Linked DNA regions of Homo sapiens: region 1 is linked to region 2. Evidence: promoter capture Hi-C in 16 types of primary human blood cells and fetal thymus (Javierre and others, 2016). All regions are on one chromosome and are shown on one strand. Each heading gives the region's core, a stretch centred on a gene start or on the middle of the fragment in contact. The rest is flanking DNA. Distances are from core to core; before and after follow the strand shown. Region 1 has its middle 75 kb from the start of FCRL5. Region 2 holds the start of ETV3L (ETS variant transcription factor 3 like).

The links. Contacts are between HindIII fragments. The CHiCAGO score rates a contact against its expected background, and 5 or more counts as called.
Region 1: a fragment that was not itself captured here is called in contact with the fragment with the promoter of ETV3L in region 2 in 1 of 17 cell types (total B cells); the score reaches 5.8 in total B cells.

The regions. Positions count from the first base shown.
Region 1 is chr1:157,474,942-157,480,236 of GRCh38, forward strand. No RefSeq gene overlaps it. Among named protein-coding and RNA genes, the nearest start is that of FCRL5, 75 kb to the right of the region's middle. The HindIII fragment of the contact is 218 bases long and covers 1,369-1,586 here.
Region 2 is chr1:157,096,806-157,102,246 of GRCh38, forward strand. It overlaps ETV3L (ETS variant transcription factor 3 like), which reads right to left and starts at 3,003. Exons shown (of 5, transcript NM_001004341.2): 1 at 2,661-3,003; 2 at 2,336-2,573; 3 at 1,901-2,090; 4 at 1,063-1,183. The coding sequence starts at 2,718. The HindIII fragment of the contact is 3,618 bases long and covers 2,934-5,441 here.

The sequences.
Region 1 (5,295 bases), core at 228-2,727, 380 kb after region 2:
TAAAAAAATCCAGACAAGCAGATCCTTTATATGGAAGAATGGGTCAAGAACATCCAAAACAATTCTGAAAAATAAGCATAATCAAGGGGACAAGCTACCAGATATTAAAACATATCATGAAACTCCAGTTATTAAAGCAGTATGGTATCAATAAATGAATAGACATAGAAAGTCCAGAAAAGAAAACAATAAATGGTTTTGAAACAACTGGCCGGCCATCAGGAAAAAAAAGTTGGATTCATAGTACATACTTCATACCAAGATAAATTCCACAAAGACCAAAGGTTTAAATGCGTCTAGAAATTTCCCGCTAGAAATGGATAGTGATGATGGTGGCAAAACATTGTGAATGTTTTGAACTCTACACTTACAAATGGTAAATTTTATTTTATGCATATTTTACCACACTGAAAAATATATCACATACAAAAAACCTTTAAATAATAAAAAATGGAAAAAATGATTTTTTTTTGAGACAGAGTCTTGCTCTGTCACTGAGGCTAGAGTGCAGTGGTATCATCTTGGCTCACTGCAACCTCTGCCTTCTGGGTTCAAGCAAATCTCACGCCTCAGCCTCTCAAGTAGCTGGAACCACAAGCATGTGCAGCCATGCATGGCTAATTTTTGTATTTTTATTGGAGACAGGATTTCTCCATGTTGACCAGGCTGGTCTTGAACCCCTGGCCTCAAGTGATCCACCTGTCTCAACCTCCCAAAGTGCTGGGATTACAGGTATGCATCACTGTGCCTGTCTAAAAAAAAATCTTTTAATAACCAAGGGTGAGAAAGCCCATATGACAAATCAAACACACAAGCAATAGCAAACTCTTGAAATCACAAAAAGTTCATAGATTTGACAACAGAAAAATAAAAATTTTCTTCATGGCAAAAATGACTATATAGTCAGAAAAAATATCACAAATTAAGAACAATATTGCTACTCAAATAATAACAAGGTAAAACAGAAAGTACTTAAAATGTTCATTAGTTGGAGGCAATAGAGAATCAGTAACAACACAGGGGAATCCTATGCAACCATGCAAAAATTAAGGCAGCTCTTTATGTACTACTATAAAATAATTGCTCAGATTCATCATTAAGGCAAAAAAAGCAGGGCAGAGTTTATAGTATGTTAACATTTGTGTAAAAATGGAGGGAAATTACGTATACATTTTGTTGGCATATGGATAGAATATCTCTGAAAGGGTACAGCAAAAAAATAATAAAGGGAGAGTCTTTTCATGGTCTATTGTTATGGACCTTTTGAATTTTAATCCTGTTAAAATTCACGGTTATGTACTTTATTAAATTTTTTAACATTTGAACTTTCCCTTAGCCTCTACAATCCTCTTAAACAGCTCTATCAAAAGCTTCCAATATCTCATTAAACTAAAAACAACAGCATATACGAGGCGAGCTCTTCATGAATCTTTATTAGAGAGAACAGTCAGATGGCTATCATCTGGGTGATATAAGAGCTGGGAGACCAGTGACCATGTGGTGGGAGCTGGGGATAGGGCATGGGGGAACTGCAGTACTGTGAAGAGAGCTTGGCTTTCAGAGACCAATTAATTTTCATGGGTTCAAGCTTGAGGGTAGACCTGGGAGAGGCTGCTGGTCCTCATGGCTCAGAGGAACTGTGGGGACTACACAGGTGGGCCAGGCTGACTTGAACCCATGAAGTTGGGAGGCTCACGGCTGGGGTGACAGGGGAGTGTGTTCCTCCAGTGCATGCAGTTGGTACCATGTGTGTTCCAGGAGTGGAGGCTACCATAACTCTTATCACAGCTGGCTTGCTGATGCTTAAGAGACCCTCACAGGTTGACTTGACTACTGAGGGCAAATGGAATGATGGGTAAGCAATTGAAAAAAAAAATGCAGCTAAGGGGCTTCAGAAACTGGAAGAAAAGGAAACTGGACAGAACACCTCAAGCACAGTCCCTAGAGTAAAGCTGCTTGATTGGCTTAGTAGTCAACCTTCTGAATTTTTTTTCTGGCAATTCAAATATCTTGTCTTGGTTTGGATCCATTGCTGGTGACCTACTGTGACCTTTTGGGGGAGTTAAAGAACATTGTGGAATTGTTTTTCTGGTTTCCTCTCATTTGGGTAGACTGTCAGAGGAAAGATCTGGAACTCAAGGGCTACTGTTCCCACTCTTGTGTCCCACAGGGTGCTCCCTTGATGTGGTGCTCTCCCCTTTCCTCTAGGGATGGGGCTTCCTGAGAGCTGAACAGCAGTGATTGTGATTTCTCTTCTGGATCTAGCCAACCAGTGGAGCTACTGGACTCCTGGATGGTACTGGGGAGTGTCTGCAAAGAGTCCCATGATGTGATCTGTCTTCAGGTCTCTCCATGATATCAGCACCTGCTCTGGTGGAGATAGCAGGGTAGTGAAGTGAACTCTGGGAGGATTTTTGGTTATATTTTTGTTAAGTGTGCTGGTTATGTGTTGGGCTGACCTACAGCCAGGAGGTGGTGTTTTCAAGAGCGCATCAACTGTGGTAGTATAGGGAGTATCAGGTGGTGGGAAGGACCTTAGAGCTCCCAAGAGATTATGTCCTTTGTCTTCAGCAACCAGGGCGGGTAGAGAAAAACCATCAGGTGGGAGCAGGGTTAGGCATGTCTGAGCTCAGACTCTCCTTGGGCGGGGCTTGCTGTGGCTGCTGCAGGGGCTGGGGGTGTGGTTCCTAGGCCAATGGAGTTATGTTTTCAGGGTAATTATGGCTGCCTCTGCTGTGTCACACAGGCCATCAGGGAAGTGGGAGAAAGTTGGCAGCCACAGGTCTCACCCAGCTCTCATGCAGACAACCGCCCAAAAGGCTAGCCTCACTCCCACCAAGTCCCCCACAACAGCACCACCAGTGAGCAGGGATGAGAACTTGCCCCAGGCTATAAGCCTCCCAGCTGAGAAAGCAAGCAGACTCACAGTTCCTTGGCTGTCACCTCCTTCAGAGTGTCTGTGGATTCTCTTGGCTTTCCTGGTATGTTCCTGTGGTAGTTCTTAGAGCAAAAGTTCACAATGTAGGTCTCCACATTCGACTCTGTCCATCTGAGAGGAAGCTGCAAGTTAGTCCTGCCTCCTATCCATCATTTCCCTCTATTTTTGCCAATTTTATAACATTTAATGGCAATGTTGCATACCTTAGGGATTTTTCTCTTTTGCTGTCTACACCCATGTATTTACCTCCTGACAAAACACAGTACATTAAAGAGACATCTCTGTCATTATTTCTTTAAATAGTCTTTTTACATCTTTCTCTTTCTCTACTCATCTGGGACACCCATAATTAGTATATTGGTTCACTAGATGTTGTCCTGTAATTCCTGGAGGCTTTCTTCACTCTATTTTCATTCTTTCTTTTATCTTTTGGTTCTCCTGACTGGGTAATTTCAAGTGACCTGTATTCAAGTTCACTGATTCTTTCTTTTGCTTGATTGAGTCATTGCTGAACCTCTCTGTGAAATTTTTTATTTTAGTCATTATGATCTTTGGCTCCAGAATTTCTGTTTGGTTCTTTCTGGCCATCTGGCGTGATCCTTGGGTGGTTGTGCTGCTGGCTTGGTGCCTGGGTCAGCAGCTGGGTATGCCTGGTGCCTGGATTGATGAGGTTGCATCTAGGGCCTGGTTCAAATGGATTAGGCCTGGGGCTTGAGTCTTCTCAGACAGGCCTGGATTCTGGGTTTACAGGGGCTGTCCTGGTACCGGACAAGAGTACCTGGTACTTCTCCACTGGAGAAGACCTGTTTACCGGGTCTACCGGAGTGGGCCCAAATGCTGGCTCATGAGGGTGGGCCTCAAGCCCATGTGTGTGGGGGCTAGCCTGAAGCCTGGGTTCACAGTGGATGACCTGGCATTGGAGAAGGCCTTGAGCCAGAATTTTCAGGGACTGGACTGATGTTAGAAGGGCCTGGTGCCTGGGCCCATGGAGACGGACCTGACACCTGAGTCTACAGGGGCTGGCCTGGCACTGAGGTGGCCCTAGAACCTGATTCTGCAGGGGAAAACCTGGGTCTTGGGTTTGTGAGGGCCAGTGTGGAGGCTGTTTGTATGGATGCTCGTCTGGAGTATGAGGCTGCAGGGCCTGAGTTAGAGCTGAGGCATGCCTGGAGGCTGGGTCCATGGATACTGACCTGGTACTTAGGGCCACAGAAATGGCCTGGGATTTGGGTAAGGTTGAAGCCTTGGGCCACAGGAACTAGCCTAGTTCTGGGGGTGGTCTGGAACCTGAAGTCACTGTGGTTGGCCTGGAGGTGGGGCAGGCCAGGACCCTGACTCTGTGGGAGGCCAACCTAGGGCCTGGGGCCTTTGGGCCTCTAGAGTGGGCCTGATGCTCGAGTCTATGGAGCCAGTTTGGTTCTGGGGTGGGTTTGGAAATTGAGTCTGTGAGTCCCAGGCTGGAGTCTCAGACTGCAGGGGCTGTCCTGGCACTAAGTGGGCCTAGAGGCTTGGTTAACAGGAGTAGGCCTGGGTTCTGGGGCTGCAATATGATGGGCTGGAAATGGAGTCTGTTGGTGGCTGTCTGATGTTTAGGACTGTGGGGGTGGCCTGGCACTAAGGCAGGACTGAAGCCTCAGGCTGCAGGGGCTAACCTGGTGCTGAGGGTAGTCTGAAGCGTGGGGTCACTAGGGCTGCCCTAGAAGATCAAGAGAAAAAAATATCTCAAAACATAGACCTAAAACACAAAGAGATGAAAAAATTGAGAAAAAATATGAAGTAGAGAAGAAAGAACCAGGATATCTGTGAAGCGACTGAAGGAAATTCTGAAAGGATAACATGGCATAAAGAGGGAGAAATGTTACAGAAGTAACAAAAACAAACTTCCATGACCAAAAGAAAGAAGCAAGTGAGAAGATTAAAAGCACTCATCAATTTCTAGATATAATTTTTTAAATTAAGAAAACAGGCATTTGGAATGGCATTACAGAAGATGGCGGAATATAGGAAGCTCTGCCTCCTCTACTGAAGCAGCTGAAGCAGCTTTTCTCAGTGGCATCTATTGAGGGGATTTAAGGAAGCAACCCCCTTTTCTCTCCTTTCTTACTGGTTTCAAACATTAAGAAAATCTTTGACCAGTCACTAACTGACTACGAAGGTAATAGAATAGAGACTTCAATGACCATACATGACAAGGAATTTGTTCTTTGTAAAAATATTTTGGAAAGTCACTGAAGAAATGGACAGCTGCAGCCTTCTTCATGCAATAACAGCAATCCCTGGAGAAAGGGTAGAATCTGTTTTCTAGAGTTACCACATTACAATCTTTAACATTTCCAATTTTCAAGAAAAATTTATAA
Region 2 (5,441 bases), core at 1,753-4,252:
TTACTTGGGAGGCTGAGGCATGAGAATCGCTTGAACCCAGGAGACGGAGGTTGCAGTGAGCCGAGATTGTGCCATTGCACTCCAGCCTGGGCAGCAAGAGCAAAACGCCATCTCAAAAAATAATAAAAGAAAGTAAAATAAAATGAAAGTCTGACCATGGATCTCCCTCCCAGTCCCTCCTGCCCACAGGAGAAAGTCCTGCTCCCTTAGCATGGCTTGTGCGGCCTCTGTGGCCTGACACCTGTTTGCCTTGCCAGCCCTGTCTCTCATCCGTCCTGCTTGTTCCCACCGCATCGCAAGACTTGCTCTCCAACAGCAAACTACCAGCTGTTCTCCAGATTTGCTACACTTGTTCACAGCTTTTTGCTTTATAAATGCTATTTCTGACTGGGTGTGGTGTCTCACACCTGTAATCCCAGCAGTTTGGGAGGCTGAGGCGGGTGGATCACCTGAGGTCAGGAGTTTGAGACCAGCCTGGCCAACATGGTGAAACCCCGTCTTTACTAAAAATACAAAAATTAGCTGGGCGTGGTGGTGCATGTCTGTAGTCCCAGCTACTCAGGAGGCTGAGGCATGAGAATCACTTGAACCTGGGAGGCAGAGGCTGCAGTGAGCTGAGATCCTGCCACTGTGTTCCAGCCTGGGCAACACTGAGACTCCGTCTCAAAAAAAAAAAAAAAAAAAAGAATAAATAAATGCTATTCCCTCTGCTTAGGCATCTTTTCCCACCTCCTTCACCTGCCCCAGTGTTGTGTCCTCTGGGAAGCCCCAGTTCCTTCTCTGGGCCTGAATGCACAGCACCTAGTGCTTACCTGAATGCCAGCAGCAGTCGCTGGCAGTAATCCCATCTCTGCTCCCCACTAGGTTCTGAGCCTCTTGAGCCTTTCATCTCTGAACCCCCGCACTTAGTAAATAGCTGGTGTTCAATAAATGTTGGTCGAATGAATGAATGAGTTACATAGTATCCCTTGTCTCATGCCCCCTCAGCCATGTACTCAGCCAGGAGGGCCCTCCCTCCTCTGGCTAAGATCCCCCTGGGCCCTCCCAGCCTTGAGCACTCACGGTAGACGCTGCTGCTGCTCCCCTTCTTATCCCCAGAGGTCTCTGGTGGCCCTCGGGGGGTCTGCTGTCCTGTCAGCTGCTCCACCATGGCCTGATGGGCAAATAGCATGCTGTGCAGGAGCTGAGGGGTGAGAAGTAGGTGCGAGGTGTGATGGGCTCTCCTTGGCATGTATCCTCCAGTACAATCTGGTACTGTTAGCCAGTTGCTAAAACAATGAAATACTCTCATACCGATTTTTTTTTTTTTGAGTTGGAGTCTTGCTCTGTCACCCAGGCTGGAGTGCAGTGGCGCCATCCTGGCTCACTGCAACCTCTGCCTCCTGGGTTCAAGCGATTCTCCTGCCTCAGCCTCCCTAGTAGCTGGGATTACAGACATGTGCCACCATGCCCAGCTACTTTTATATTTTTATTGGAGATGGGGTTTTGCCACGTTGTCCAGGCTGGTCTCGAACTCCTGACCTCAAATGATCCGTCCACCTCGTCCTCCCAAAGTGCTGGGATTACAGGTGTGAGCCACCACGCCTGGCCTCTCATACCCATTGTTAAAAGCCCACTGCCACGGCTGCCTACAGTCTCAGATGCCCTGGGCCCTTCCCTCTGATCCACCCCTAAAGGAGTGGCGACTAGGACAGAAGGAGCCACCCTTTCTCACAGGTGGGTCCTGTACCACCTGGATTGTTAATACCCCTGCCTCTGGGGCACTCAGGGTCTAGGATGCAGGAGGAGAAGAAAACTGGAGGCTGATGGGCCCCAGAGGCAAAGAGGAGGGTGGGGAGCCTCCTGGGCAGAGGGGTAGGACCTGGTGGAGCCCTGAGACAGGGGCCACCTCCGCTCTTACCTCACTCTGCACACCCACGGGCACCAGCGCTGGCCGACACAGGGCAGGGGCCCCCAGCAGCAAGTGGGGGGATGGCGGCGCCCGCACTTCCCACAAAGGATAGTTGACTACGATGAGCTTGCTGAAGTTGAACTTGTATGTGAACCTTTTGCCTTTGGTCTTATGCAGGATCCTCTTATTGTAGTAATATCTGGAGAATTCGAAGTTGAGAATAGAGTTGGCCCAGCAGTCAGAGAATAGAGTCAGGGACCCAGTCACATTCTCCTCCCTAGCCGGGCTGACCCTAAGCTGTTCCCCGAGAACCACTAGGCTGCTCACCACAGGCCAGGACACTTCCCAAGCCTTGGAGGGGTGGGAGTCAGCAGGGGTACCAGAAACCACGGCCCTTTTCCTTGAAATCCCCCCTCTTTGGCCATGTCAGCCGCCTCCTCTCACCTGAGGGCCCGGCTCAGCTTGTCATAATTCATCTGTGGTTTGCATTTCCTGCGGCCCCAGAGGCGGGCCACCTCATCTGGATCCTTGATGACAAATTCCCCGTACTCTCCCTGCTGCCAGGCGATGACATGGCGGAACTCTTCCTTCTGCAGCAGCTCCAGGATGAAGTGCCACAGCTGGATCTGCCGGGAGCCTGGGGACGACTCGGCTTTGTAGGCCCAATCAGGGAAGGCCAACCCTGGGTGGAGAGGGGAGAGTGAGGGCTCTGGAGGCCCTGCCCTAGGCCACCGTTGGAGCAGGGGGTAGGCCCGGCCAAGAGGCTCACCTGAGATCCAGTTGCCGGGGTTGGCTGGGATGCCCTCAGCCAAGCAGCTGCAGTGCATGGTCCACTCCGGCGAGATGGGCTGTGTCTGGGCCTTGGGGAAATGGTCACCACTTAAGAGGAAGGGAAGGAAGGAGGCAGAGGGGAGGACAGTGAAAGAGGAAGGAAAAATGGAGGGAAAGAAGGAAGGAAGGGAGAGGGTCAGGAAAGAAAGAGAGAAAAGGGAAGGGACAAGAGGTTGCCAGTGAAGGGGAGAAAAGGGAACCAGAGGCAGCAAGCTTCCCCATACCCAGACAGGGCCCAGCCCCCTCTGGGGACCTCCCCGCTGCCCAGGGCTGACTCGGACTCAGGGCTTCCGGCTGAGCTACTTATATAGATGGAGAGAAGTGCAAAGGGTCCTATATCCTGCCCCTGCTGGGGGATTTAGACAGAGAATGAGATCTCTTCTTAGGGCTTAACAGGATTGGAGTTTTTCCCAAGAGAAGACAAAAGGAAATGTAATTAATCATGGGCTCATTCTAAATCTTGAGTGGGAAGGAGGTGGCATATACACATACCTGTGCCTTTACAGTATTTCTTTTTTTTCTTTCTTTCTTTCTTTTTTTATTTTTTTTGAGACAGAGTCTCACCCTGTCGCCCAGGCTGGAGTGCAATGGGGTGATCTCGGCTCACTGCAACCTCCGCCTCCTAGATTCAAGCAATTCTCCTGCCTCAGCCTCCCGAGTAGCTGGGATTACAGGTGCATGCCATCACGCCCAGCTAATTTTTTTTATTTTTTATTTTTAGTAGAGATGGGGTTTCACCATGTTGGCCAGGCTGGTCTCGAACTCCTGACCTCGTGATCCGCCCACCTCGGCCTCCCAAAGTGCTGGGATTACAAGTGTGAGCCACTGCACCTGGCCGCCTTTACTGTATTTCAAACAATTTGACATTTGAGAAGAGCAGGAATTTGGTTTTTTTGTTTGTTTGTTTGTTTTTTTGAGATGGAGTCTCGCTCTGTCACCCAGGCTGGAGTATAGTGGTGAGATCTCGGCCCACTGCAACCTCTGCCTCCCAGGTTCAAGCGATTCTTCTGCCTCAGCCTCCTGAGTAGATGGGATTACATGTGCCCACCACCATGCCCAGCGTATTTTTGTATTTTTAGTAGAGACAGGGTTTCGCCCTGTTGGCTAGGTTGGTCTCAAACTCCTGACCTCAGGTGATCCGCCTGCCTCCGCCTCCCAAAGTGCTAGGATTACAGGTGTGAGCCACCGTGCCCAGACGAGCAGGAATTTTTATGGGCTTTTTTTTGCCAGTCCCAAGGGCCTGGCGCAAAATAGGTGTTCAATAAATGATTGCTGATCGAATGAATGAATGGTAATGGACTTATAGATAGTGTCTTCTTTGTTGAACATCTGTATCCCGCTCAGAGTGTCAGCTCCGAGATCAGCAACCCTAGCTGTCTTGTTCTCCTCTGCTGGCTCCCCAGATCCCATCGTAGCACAGGACATCGTACTCAAAGGTGCTTTATAGATATTTGTTGAATTGGTGAACCATGGACAGGAACCGGGAATCTTGTGGTTCTCCGCTGAGAAGGGTGGGGAGTTTATGGAATGAGCCCTAGTGAGATAGACTTGCCTGATATAGGAAAAGAGAACAAAATATCTAAGCTCTAAAGCCTTCTGGATGGAACAGAAAGCCTTCTGGATGGTGCAAAAGGCTGGTTTCCACTATAACTAATGGAAGATGAAACAATATGCAAAGGGACTGGGAGAGGCTGCCTTGGGGATGCAGCACATGGGAACTGCTCCTGGTGGGCCAGGGCATTGGGAGGTTCCTGGGCGCTTAGGACTGCCTGTGAACAGGGTTACGTGACCCGGGCCTGGCTCTCCATCTCTGGTGGAGTTAGTGTGCAGTAGTCTCAGTGAGAACTTATTAGGCTGTGAGGTCTGGAGGGCGTGTGAGGATTTGTCTGGAGGGCATGTGAGGATTTGTCTGGAGTTGCTTCCTCACTTTCCAGAGGAGGCTCAGACAGGGAAAATGACTTGACCAAAGACAGGTGGTGAGTTAGCTGCCCTGCCCCCTGACTCCTAATCCATAGCACTTTCTCATATACTGAGTTGCCTTAAGACTTAAAAAAAAAAAAAATCTATGTTGGTGATTTTCAGACTCTAATGCGAATAGGAATGATCTGAAGGTCTCTTTAAAATACGGATTCTGATTCAGTGGGATTTGGGGGACCTAAGACTCTGTACTTCTATTATTTATTTATTTATTTATTTATTTTTTGAGACAGAGTCTCACTCTGTCACCCAGGCTGCAGTGCAGTGGCATGATCTCAGCTCACTGCAACCTCCAGGTACAGGCAATTCTCCCACCTCAGCCTCCCAAGTAGCTAGGACTACAGGCACCCATCACCACGACTGGCTAATTTTTGTATTTTTAGTAGGAATGGGGTTTCATTATGTTGGCCAGGCTGGTCTCAAACTCCTGACCTTAAGTGATCCACCCGCCTTGGCCTCCCAAAATACTGGGATTACAGGCGTGAGCCACCGTGCCCAACCAAGACTCTGCACTTCTTTTTTTTTTTTTTTTTTTTTTTTGAGACAGAGTCTTGCTCTTTTGCCCAGGCGGGAGTGCAGTGGTGCAATCTCAGCTCACTGCAAGCTCCGCCTCCCGGGTTCACGCCATTCTCCTGCCTCAGCATCCCGAGTAGCTGGGACTACAGGCACCCGCCACCACACCCGGCTAATTTTTTGTATTTTTAGTAGAGATGGGGTTTCACTGTGTTAGCCAGGATGGTCT